4 separate regions of the Homo sapiens genome follow, and all the other regions are linked to region 2. Evidence: promoter capture Hi-C in human tissues and cell types (Jung and others, 2019). All regions are on one chromosome and are shown on one strand. The core of a region is centred on a gene start or on the middle of the fragment in contact, and the rest is flanking DNA. Distances in the headings are between cores, read along the strand shown.

Evidence for each region. The method cuts DNA at HindIII sites, captures the fragments that hold promoters and counts their contacts. A contact is called where the count stands out against the background at its distance.
Region 1: a contact is called between a fragment that was not itself captured here and the fragment with the promoter of ANXA3 in region 2, in 1 of the 25 tissues and cell types used here (dorsolateral prefrontal cortex).
Region 3: a fragment that was not itself captured here is called in contact with the fragment with the promoter of ANXA3 in region 2 in 1 of the 25 tissues and cell types used here (heart right ventricle).
Region 4: a fragment that was not itself captured here is called in contact with the fragment with the promoter of ANXA3 in region 2 in 1 of the 25 tissues and cell types used here (H1 embryonic stem cells).

The regions. Positions count from the first base shown.
Region 1 is chr4:77,867,489-77,870,362 of GRCh38, reverse strand. The region is part of intron 1 of MRPL1 (mitochondrial ribosomal protein L1); the gene reads right to left. Among named protein-coding and RNA genes, the nearest start is that of MRPL1, 6.1 kb to the right of the region's middle. The HindIII fragment of the contact is 3,452 bases long and covers 1-2,874 here.
Region 2 is chr4:78,549,708-78,553,019 of GRCh38, reverse strand. ANXA3 (annexin A3) reads right to left here and starts at 1,250. Exons shown (of 13, transcript NM_005139.3): 1 at 1,161-1,250. RefSeq lists enhancers at 1-830, 134-885. The HindIII fragment of the contact is 13,286 bases long and covers 1,137-3,312 here.
Region 3 is chr4:77,942,784-77,945,809 of GRCh38, reverse strand. All of the region lies in intron 7 of MRPL1 (mitochondrial ribosomal protein L1), which reads right to left. All of the region lies in intron 1 of LOC102724916 (a long non-coding RNA gene), which reads left to right. Among named protein-coding and RNA genes, the nearest start is that of MRPL1, 81 kb to the right of the region's middle. The HindIII fragment of the contact is 6,374 bases long and covers 1-3,026 here.
Region 4 is chr4:77,963,485-77,966,392 of GRCh38, reverse strand. It overlaps the pseudogene HMGB1P44. Among named protein-coding and RNA genes, the nearest start is that of FRAS1, 92 kb to the left of the region's middle. The HindIII fragment of the contact is 6,061 bases long and covers 1-2,908 here.

The DNA of each region.
Region 1 (2,874 bases), core at 242-2,741, 680 kb after region 2:
AACAAGCAATTATCCATTCGAAGCTTGGCAAACACTTCCAAACAATTCTAGTTGTACTATACAAGAACCTAACAACCTTGGAAGATCCCAAAATAATAATTCTCTTGGGGAAACAAACAAAAAAATCTCTTGAACATATCAATTGCAATCTGCTATTTTAAAAAATCAAGGCCAGTCACAGTGGCTCATGTCTGTAATCCCAGCACTTTGGGAGGCCAAGGCAGGAGGAACCCTTGAGCCCAGGAGCTCGAGCCCAGCCTGGGCAATAGAGTGGAACCCCATCTCTACAAAAAATTTAAAAATTAGCGACGGTGCACAGCTGTAGTCCCAGCTACTCAGGAAGCTGAGGTGGGAGGATTGCTTGAGGTGGCAGGATCACTTGAGCCAGGAAAGTTGAGGCTGCAGTGAGTTCTGATCTCACTATTCCACTCCAGACTGGGTGACAGGAACCCTGTCTCAAAAAAACAAAACAGGCTGGGTGCGGTGGCTCACACCTGTAATCCCAGCACTTTGGGAAGCTGAGGTGGGTGGATCACCTGAGGTCAGGAGTTTGAGACCAGCCTGACCAAGATGATGAAACTGTCTCTACTAAAAACGCAAAAAAAATTAGCTGAGTGTGTTGGTGCATGCCTGTAATCCCAGCTACCTGAGAGGCTGAGGCACAAGAATCGCTTGAACCTGGATGGCAGAGGTTGCAGTGAGCCGCGCCACTGCACTCCAGCCTGGGCAACAAGAGCGAAACTCTGTCTCAAAAACAAACAAACAAACAAACAAACAAACAACAAAAAGCAAGCAAGCAAGCAAAACCACTACTATCAGTCATGACAACCAGAAACTACAATTTTCAACAGAAATCAAACACTACAGACCAAAAGAAACCAAATACCACTATTTAAGTAGCACTGTTAGATCATGATATCTATGTTTTCAATCCTTTTGTAGTCAATTTGTCTAGCTGTATTATTTTATCTCCTTTATTAATACATTTCTCTTCCCCTTATTCTTAGCATATAACCTCACTTGCTACTTCAGAGAAAATAGCCCTCAGAACTTCCTGAACTACTGAGTCTCCCTGATCCAGCACTCATTCTCAAAATCTCTCCCACCCCGTGGCAATGAGATAGAAACAACTCCCTCTCCTTTCTTATCTCTTTTAATTGATAGTGAAAGGTTAGAGTTCCCTTGAGGTCAGTCCTATACTGCCTTCTCACCTGACTCTATAATCCTCACTCTCCCTAGGGAATCGTATCCATCTATTCTTGCCTTTCTGCTACAACCATCACAGTCCAGGCTACCATCACCTACCACCTGGATTACTGCCACAGCCTCTAAACTGTTCTGTCTTCTACACTTGGCCCTCTCCATTTCTTTTCCACCTATATTAGTAAGAGGGATCATTTTAAAATGAAAATTTCACCATGTCCTTAAAATACTTGGATGGCTAAACTTGGCTCTTTGAACAAAGGAAATTTTTACCAAGGTACTCCACGAGCTACTACTAAACTATCCAGTGAGCATCCTCTAGCCCCACTCTCCCTCATGTTCACCATGCTACAAATACACTCATCTTCTTTCAGTTACTTGACTCTGTTCTTTACCACCTAAGAATTTTCATAATCTTCCATCTATGACATTTTCCCCTATTGCTTTCCACTCCACTAGTTCATAGTAATACAGTTATCTTTCAAGGACTCTACTTAACATTATTTCTTCAGAAGAGTCTCCCCTGAATAGATTAGGTCTCTCATATACATTTGTATAACATCTTACACTTTTCCTTCACAGCACTTAGGACAATTTTAACTAAAGAAATAATTATCCAGGTCGGGCGTGGTGGCTCATGCCGGTAATCCCAGCACTTTGGGAGGTTGAGGAGGGTGGATCACAAGATAAGGAGTTCAAGACCAGCCTGGCCAACATGGTAAAACCCCGTCTCTACTAAAAATACAAAAAAAATTAGCCGGGTGTGGTGGCATGCTCCTGTAATCCCAGCTACTCGGGAGGCTGAGGCAGGAACTGCTTGAACCCCAGAGTCAGAGGTTGCAGTGAGCCAAGATTGAGCCACTGCACTCCAGCCTAGGCAACAGAGGAAGAGTCCATCACAGAAAAAAAAACAAAATATACACACAAAAGTTAGCTGGGCATGGTGACACGTGCCTGTAGTCCCAGCTACTCAGGAGGCTGAAGCAGGAAAATCACTTGAAGCTGGGAAGCAGAGGTTGCAGTGGGCCAAGATCGTGCCACTGCACTCCAGCCTAGGCAACAGAGTGAGACTCCATCTCAAAAGGAAAAAAAAAAGAAATAACTGGCCAGGCGCGGTGGCTCATGTCTGTAATCCCAGCACTTTGGGGGGCTGAGGTGGGCGGATCACGAGGTCAGGAGATCAAGACCATCCTGGCTAACACGGTGAAACCCCGTCTCTACTAAAAATACAAAAAATTAGCCAGGCATGGTGGCGGGCGCCTATAGTCTCAGCTACTCGGGAGGCTGAAGCAGGAGAACGGCGTGAACCCGGAAGGCAGAGCTGGCAGTGAGCCGAGATCGTGCCACTGCCCTCTAGCCTGGTCGACAGAGCAAGACTCCGTCTAAAAAAAAAAAAAAAAAAAAAAAAAAAAAGAAATAACTATCCAAGGCTGGGTGTAGTGGTTCACGCATGTAATCCCAACACTGGGAAGCCAAGGCGGGTTGATCGCTCATGCCTATAATGCCAGCACTTCAGAAGACTGAGGTGGGAGGATAATTTGAGCCCAGGAGTTCAAGACCAGCTTGGGCAACATAGTGAGACCCCGTCTCTTGAAAGAAAAGAAAAGAAAAAGAAAAAGAAAAAGAAAAGAATTATCCAATTAATTCCTGCTCCTCAATAGATGGTAAGCA
Region 2 (3,312 bases), core at 1-2,500:
AGAATTACTCCACAGCGAAGGCCAAATGACTTAAACAGAATTTCAATATATCCTTTCCTGAAAGGGATTACATCATTTCCTTTTACTTCCTCCTCTACGGTTATTTCTAAACAGGTTTCTCTACACAACCACAGAGTTCTGGGAACAAGATTCTGGTTTTCTTTACATTTAAAAATTCCCTTTCTGGTCAGTCTGAAGTTTTCCGTCTTCGTGAAAACCAAAGGTGGTATCTTCATGGAGTAACGTTTTAATTAGTTACATTTTAAAAAATGATGTTGGTGAACATAGTAAATGTATCTTTCCCGGAGGGCAGGGTCTTGCTGTCAGTGCTGAACACAAATCCTTGGAAAGAATTCGGCCTGGGCTATGCAATTTCGTATCAGTAGCCAGAGGGGCCTCCAGCGACCCAGAACCTCCCAGCACCTGCATACTTTCCTATATATGGTCATCTGCAATCAAGTATCCAAATCTTCCACCTGGTGACTCAAATACCAAGGGAATGATTCATATCTAGTCAATAGGATTCTGTTGCAAAGAAAACGGTTAGTCTTTTCAGGAAAAAGCAAACTTCTTGAACTTCCAACCCTCAATATGCAAATCCACTGTTTTCTACCTTCTAAAAAAAATAAGTAAAATAAAATAAATTGCCTATGTGAGGGGGAGAAGATGCTCACAGGATGGGTGCGATTCCAAGTCCACAGAGCAGACCTCTGAGCCAGCCCCGTCTGCCATGCCGGGGACCCGAGGAACCTTCCGACTCCCAGCTTTTTTCTGTCCCCTAGACCTTTAGGACTGGGGAGGCCGAGATGGCTAAGTGGATCCCTTACGCTGCTAGCTGTAATAAGCGAAGCTTTCAGGGAGCGAGGACAGCTGAGTATCAGCTTGGGCCCCACCAAGACCTGGGTGACCCACCCATGGCACGGCACTTTCCCCCCCGTGGGCCCAGTCTCCTCGACTCTGAAATGCAGGACTGAGGTCCCTCCAGCTCCCCACCCACGCAGCTGGGTTGGGGCCGGGCGCGGGCGCCAGCCGCCAGCCCTGCCCAGGGTCGAGCTGCACTCGCGGGGGAACTGGGCGAGGCGCCGCGACCTCCCCAAGCCACCCGTCAGCAGGCGGCTGTGGGCGAGGCTCGCGGGGACGCGCCGGGAGGCTGAACTTACCCAAAGCGCGGTGGGGGAAACTGGTGTGCGAGTAAACTGCGAACAAACTGCGAGCGAAGGTGTCAGCCGCGGGCGCAGGTGCTCCGCGCTGGCTCCGGGTCCGGATCGCGACCGCACCCCTTCCTCCTGCCCCTCCTCCGGCCTCTCGACTCCACCTGATTGCGGCCCCAGGCCCCGGGAAAGGGAAGCCGCGCCCTGCTGCCGCCGGGCTCTATCCCTGTACACAGGCGCCCCAGCTCTGCTCCCTCACCGGTCTCTAAGCTTCCCCACCCTTTTCTCCCTACGCCCTCATTTCGCTCTCGGTTTCCACTACACCTTTACTTTCTCAAATGTACTGCAATGCTTATTTTGTTCTAGGCAGTGTGGATTCGGAGATTAGACTGTCCCTATACCTAAGGAACTCACTGCGTGGCATAGGTGGCGGACACCTAACATTAATAACATTGATCTGGCATTTACTTTGTACCAGGCACTGTTCTAACTTCTTTAAGAATATGCGCGGATTTATTAGGTTGGTGCAAAAGTAATTGCGGTTTTTGCCATTAAAATGGCTCCGACAACAACTCTATGAGGTAGATACTATTATCCCCATTTTATAGATGAGGAAATTGAGATACAGAGACGTTGGGTAACTTCAGCCAATTTACACAGAAGGTAAATGCCAGAGCTAGTGTTTGGAACCCAACTATTTCAGTAATTCCTCTACTAAACGTGTTGACCCTCTGGTATGAGGATTCCAACCAAAGGCTCAGGGAGACGGTAACCTGGAAGGGCATTCTAGGCATTTGGAAGAGCAAAACAAATCATCGAGGCTAAAAGGTTAAAGCCCTACTCGTATGAGGGAATTATGAGCAGTTGTGTGCTGAAGGATGTAGAAAAAGTTACCATGTATTGAGTATCAGGCATTGAAGTGCTTGAATACCTTACCTCTTTTATCTTCAAGGGAACTCTAGGAGGTGCTATTTTTATCACAATTTGCAGAAGAGAAAACTGAGGCTTAGAAAAGTGAAGTGATTTATCCGAGACCACGTAAGTAAAAAGTATTGCTTGCACTCAGTCATCACTGGGCCCCTTATGTATTCACCCGAAGGATTTGAAAACTTACCTCCACAAACACCTGCACATGGATGTTTATAGTAGCTTTACTCCTAAGTATCAAAAGTCGGAAGCAACCAAGATGTAATTCGTAGGTGAATGGATAAATAAACTGTGATACATCTATACAATAGAATTTTATTCAGCACTGAAAAGAAATTAGCTATCAAGCTATAAAAACACATGGAAGAAACTTAAATGCATATTATTAAGAGAAAGAAGCCCATTTGAAAATGCTACACACTATGATTCCAACTATATGACATTCCAGAAAAGGCAACACTACGGAGACAGTAAAAAAAATCACTGGTTTCTAGGAGTTGAGAGGAGGTAGGGTGAACAGGTGGAGCACAGAGGATTTTTAGAGGATAAGCATGGCTGGAGCTGCTTGAGTGTGAGTTGAAGAGATTACAGTCTTGGTCCTTAAGGCTGAGTCCTGGGACCTAGAAACTCATTAGAAATGCAAATTCCCTGAAACCCTGCGCCATCAAGTGATTCTGATGCATCCTAAAGTTTGAGAACCACTGGTTTAAGAGGAGCTACAACGGAGAAGGCAGAAGTGGTCATGCTTAAAAGGCCAGTGCCCTGGGAGCCCTCTCAGATCTACAAATCCGAAGTGATGGGCTTTCTGCAAGAGAGAAGATAGGATGGTGTTCTGCATTCTGTTCTGCATAGTAATTCCTGACTCCCATTCAGACTTCACCACAATAAACTGTTAAATCCCATGTTACCTCAAAAAATTCTGAGATTAGCATGAAATGGGGGAAAATATTTATTATTATTTGTGCCAGACACTGGGTAATGCACTTGACGTACGTGATCTATGTCATGCTTACCAACTAGCTGTAAATTAGGTATGATTGCCTCTATTTTGCAGATACAGACACAGGCTCAGAGGGACTCAGTAAGTTCTACGAGTTGTATTCCAGGCAACTAGGAAGTCATAGGGCTAGATTTATAGCCAGAAGAAAATGAGTAACAGGTGATGTTTTACATGTAGGCTTTATTTTAATTGTTTAAACCATTCAGGATTTAACTTCTTTGATTTCCTGATGGT
Region 3 (3,026 bases), core at 39-2,538, 610 kb after region 2:
GCATGTGATCTTTGTGACCTACTCCCTGTTCGTACACCCCCTCCCCTTTTGAAGTCCTCAATAAAAACCTGCTGGTTTTGTGGCTCAGGTGGGCATCACGGTCCTAGCGATATGTGATATCACCCCCAGAGACCCAGCTGTAAAATTCCTCTCTTTATACTCTTTATTTCTCAGCCGGCCGACACTTATGGAAAATAGAAAGAACTTACGATGAAATATTGGGGGCAGGTTCCCCCGATAAAGGATTACAATGTGAATAAAGGATTTTTACAATCTTACAGAAGACAGAACTTAAAAAAAAAAAGCAAAGTACACATACATGATTTTTAAACAATCACATGTTCCTTCTAAAGTGGCAGCTTCTATTAACTATAACTGTTCTGATAGTCTCTAGATGACTAATCACCTTTGACTGAAAACTGAAGAGAGGACTGCTGCTTTGGATAAGCACTTGTTAGACCAGTTGTCCTCCAAAATCTCTTCCAAATGTAATATTCTAAGACTATATAAAGTGTGGCCTGGCAGACAGCTTTTGAAGATGAGCCAAAACTCTTAATTTCCATGACTCCTAACAGTCTAAACCAAGAAAAGAAAGGTTATCTGTATGTCTCCTACATAACATAAAGTAGTAGTAGTAGTAATAATAATAATAATAATAATAATAATAATAATAATAATAATTGATGGTGCAGCTCTGTTTATTGGGTACTTACTTTGGGCCAAACTCTGAGTGTTCACATAGATATTCTTATTCATTTCTCCCAAGAACCTTATGAGGTAGGTGCTATTATTATCCTTTATTTACACTTATAAACTGAGACTCAGAAAACTCTGTAACTTATTCATGAGCACACACATGGTAAGGAGTGGCCAAGTAGCTACGTGTCTGAGCACTTAAGGCAGACAAACCCCACTTCCACCACCTTACTAGCTTATGACTCTGGACACAGCTATTACAAGTTCGTGATCTTTATATAAGGAAAATGAAGTATCAGTTGTCTGAGAAACACAAGTGAGCGTGTTGTATACTAAGGGGAGAAAAAGGGAAACTAAGTGAAACACTAAAAGAATATACATTTAAGATGGAAAAATAAGAATTTTTCTCTCTGCCTAATGAATCCTTTAGTGCCTTCCTAATTTTTAGATGTTAATACCATACAACTTAGCAACATTTACTTAACCCTCACTCTGTCAAGCAACACATGGAACCAGGAACAGGAAGACGAATAAGATACAAACCTCGCCCTTGAGATTACAATCTAGACACTAAAACACAACATAAGAAATACCACTTTATATGAACGAAGTGCTACAAGGGCACAGAGGAAGAAGTAATTGACACGGAAGGCTTTACTCATCACGAAAAAAGGTAGTATCTAAGCTGAGTCTTAAAGGATGGAGAATTTTGAAGGACAAAGAGGATCTTCTAGGCAGAGGGACCAGCATAAGGTAATGTGAGACAAAGGTGGATCAGGAGAGCCCACAGACCCTTTGAAGGAAGTGGATTGCTGCGACAGGCCCCAGAGACAGCTGAAAAACTGTGCTGCTATCTATGGCTGTGAGACCTGAAGACAGTTCACATCATAGTACTCTGTGCAGACATGCCCCAGTACCAGCCTGGAGCCTGGTAACTGCTGGGTGGCCAGATCCAGAAGAGAAATAACAATCACTACAGTTTGGCTCTCAGGAATCCCCATCCCTAGGGGAAGGAGGGGAGCACTACATCAGTGGAACACCTGGTGGGACAAAAGAATCTGAACAGCAGCCCTTGAGCCTCAGAACTTCCCTCTGATGTAGTCTGCCCAAATAAGAAATCAGAAAAACAATTGTGATAATATAACAAAACCAAAGTTCTTAAACATCCCCCTAAAAGATCACACTAGCTTATCAGCAATGGATCGCAATGGATCCAAACCAAGAAGAAATCCCTGAATTGCCAGGAAAAGAATTCAGAAGGTCGATTATTAAGCTAATCAAGGAGGCACCAGAGAAAGGTGAAGTCCAACTTAATGAAATAAAAAATGTGATACAAGATATGAAGGGAAAAATGTTCAGTGAACCAGATAGCATAAATAAAAAATAATCAAAACTTCCGGAAATGAAGGACACACTTAAAAGAAATGCAAAATGCACTGTAAAGTCTCAGTAATAGAATCGAACAAGCAGAATAAAGAATTTCAGAGCTTGAAGACAAGATTTTTGAATTAACTCAATCTACAGAGAAAGAAAAGAGAATCAAAATAAATAAATAAACAAAGCCTCCAAAAAGTTGGGATTATGTTAAATGACCAAAACTAAGAATAATTGGTGTTCCTGAGGAAGAAAAGAAATCTAAAAGTTTGAAAAACATATTTGAGGGAATAATCAAGGAAAACTTCCCAGCGTGGCTAGAGATCTAAATACATAGCAGCTCAAAGAACACCTGGGAAATTTATCACAAAAAGATCATTGCCTAGACACGTAGTCATCAGGTTATCCAAAGCCAAGATGAAGGAAAGGATCTTAAAAGCTGTGAGGAAAAGCACCAGGTAACCTAAAAAGGAAAACCCATCAGATTAACAGCAGATTTCTCCACAGAAACCCTACAAGCTAGAAGGGATTAGGGCCCCATCTTCAGCCTCCTTAAAAAAAAAATTATTGGCCAATAATTTTGCATCCAGTGAAACTAAGCTTCATAAATGAAGGAAATACACAATCTTTTTCAGACAAACAAATGCTGAGAGAATTTGCCACTACCAACCCAGCACTACAAGAACTGCTAAAAGGAGCTCTAAATCTTGAAACAAATCCTTGAAATACACACCAAAATGAACCTCCTTAAAACATAAATCTCACAGGACCTATAAAACAAGGACATAATAAATTTTAAAAAAGGGTATCAGGCAACAAATAACGCAATGAATAGAATAGTACCTCACATCTCAATACTAATGTTGAATGTAAGTGGCCTAAATGCTCTACTTAAAAGATACAGAATAGCAGAATGGATAAGAATTAACCAACCAAGTATCTGCTGTCTTCAAGAG
Region 4 (2,908 bases), core at 115-2,614, 590 kb after region 2:
TTGTAAGATTCAGCAAATTACCTTGTACCTTGAGGTACAGGAGGCAAAAGTGTTTGAATCTTCCATGACACTTCTAACCAACAGTGTGATTGTGTGGAGCAGTATAGTGAGGAAAAAAACAACCCTGAGACCTCATAGAAATCAGTGGGAAAGTCTTCTGTGATTCACATCATCTGTCATGTGCCTGATGGGGATGGGGAATGGTAAGAATCTGTGCCATAAATTTGCAGACTCTATTCTAGGTAAGAGCAGTAATATTTAAATTGCATAATGTATCAGAAATAACATCTTAAAACCTTATAGACTTGACTTTACCAAATACTGGGATTTAAATATAAAGAGGAGGTAGGGTTCAAATCAGCTGGGTATCCTAACCAACCTGACAGGATTCTTCATTACACTGCATAATACAAACAGAATTAACCCCTCTCCCAGGAAGGCAGTAACTTGTTGGGAGTCAGAAAATAACAGATTTCTTCCATCTCTAAGTCTTTTTATTTTTAAGAAGTTATTTTATGAATCCCATAAAACTCTAGATCACCATACTACAACTTTAATCAATGTAGAGTGATATTCTAACTTCTGTCTCCTCCACTCACAGGATTTTTAAATCCCTCAAAAATTACTGGACAATGTCACATTTAGCAAAATGATTAAAGTGAAAAAATAATGAACCAAGTATTGGCAAGAATATGGAGAAGTTGGAAATCTTCCACACTTTTGGGAATGTATATTGGTACAACTACTTAGGAAAAGTGTTGAGCATTGTAATGGAGCATGTTACTATCCAGCAAGTTCACGCTTAGGTATATATACAACAGGAATGTTTATGTATATATCTTGTGCACTTCTGTTGGTGAATATATATATATGTTCACCAAACTATATATATACTCATTTTCCTCATGTATATATGTTCATCTTATCTATACATATGTTCATCGCCCTCATATATATATATATATGTTCACCAAACGTGGACAAGATATAAATATGTGCGTATAAACTTGGTACAAAAGTAATTGCTGTTTTTAATGGCAAAAACAGCAATTACTTTTGTACCAACCTCATACATACATACAAATACATATATTTGTGTACACACACTAATGTGTATATATAAGCATTTCTGTTGTATATATACCTATGAATACATATATATTCTTTTCACCAGAAGTGGACAAGAATGTTAATAAGTAGCATCATTGTAATAGCCCTAAAACTTCACAAGAAGAAATATACAAAAATGTTCATATCAACGTTATTTGTAATACCCCAAACTGTAAAAATCCACATGTCCACCAACAGTAGAATGGATATTTGTGATACATTTAAGCAATGGAATATTATACAACAATGAGAACGAACAAACTACAACTACACACTGGATGAATGTCATAAATATAATGTTGAATGACTGAACCCAGACCTCCCCCAAATCACATATGATAATTATTCAATTTAAGGTAATTTTCAAAATCAGGCAAAACAAATATATAGCCTTGGAAGTGGTAATAGTGATTACCTTGAATGAGAGTGGTTTCTAAGGGGTTTCTAGGGTGCTGAAATTATCCTGTTTCTTGATCTGTGTGCTAGGTACATGTTTATTTTGGGAAAATTCATCAAGCTATACCACCATACTGTACCAAGCAAGGTTAGTGCCTACTGAAATTACCACCAGGACAGGGCTATCTAAAGACACATTTGGTAGTGTGTTAACTATATAAAAAAAGACACTGTACAGTTTAAAAACAAATCTTACACAAACTTACATTTCAATTTTTTTGTTTGAAAGGAGTGAATTGTGTACAGGGAGGTTAAATTCTTTATAGACAAGAAAAAAATGTGCTAACATTAACTTATTCATCAACATCTTCTTCATCATCTTCTTGTCCTCTTCTTTCTTCTCTTTCTTGCTTTTTTCAGCCTTGACAACTCCCTTTTTGCTGCATCTGGCTTTCCTTTAGCTCAGTATGCAGCAGTATCTTTTTCACATTTTTCCTTGAGCTTCGCAGCGTTCTTTGTATAAGGCTGCTAGTCATCTGCAGCAGTGCCATTCCACATCTCTCCCAGCATCTTTGCAACATCACCAATGTTTAGGCCAGGATGTTCTTTGATTTTTGGGTGATACTCAGAACAGAACAAGAAAAAAGGCTGAAGAAGGCCTCTTGAGTGTATTGGGATCCTTGAACTTCTTTTTTGTCTCCCCTTTAGGAGGGATATAAGTTTTCATTTCTCTTTCATAATGGGCTTTACCTACCTTTGTCATGTCTTCCAATTTTCCTTTTGCTTTAGCAGAAGTAGTCTTTCACCTCTCAGCACTTCTCAGAAAACTCTGAGGAGCTGACTGAGGCATCTGGGTGCTCCTTCTTGTGCTCCTCCTGACAAGATGGCACAAAGAACACATATGATGACATTTTGCCTCTTGGTTTCTTAGGATCTACTTTACCCATGTTTAGTTATCTTTCTTCAACAAGGCACAGAGTTGCCCAGTGCCCATCTGGCTCTCACTTGCCCCAGCACTCTCTCTATGGAGCTCAGTGTACTGCAATCAATTGAATATTTTTACCATAGAAATCTGTTCATGTGTAATTACATATGTTTGTATTTATGTTTAATAAAATGAAATTGGCATCTCTCCCCTCTAAAAAACCAATTAGTAATTTTTTTTGCATCCAAAGAATATTTGCTATGTATGTAAAAACACTTGGAGGGTGATGAAGTTAGTATTATGAATTCAATACAATGTAGTTAGTGATTTCATAGAACTGTAGGAGAAGACATTTAATAAAAATTCAAGTAATTAATGGGTCTAAGTTTTGTTGCCTCCTCCTATCACTGCTACTAATTCCTCCCAAATAGTCATCAAAGGTAGTGACCTAGTATAGTGGCATCTGTTGGTTTTGCC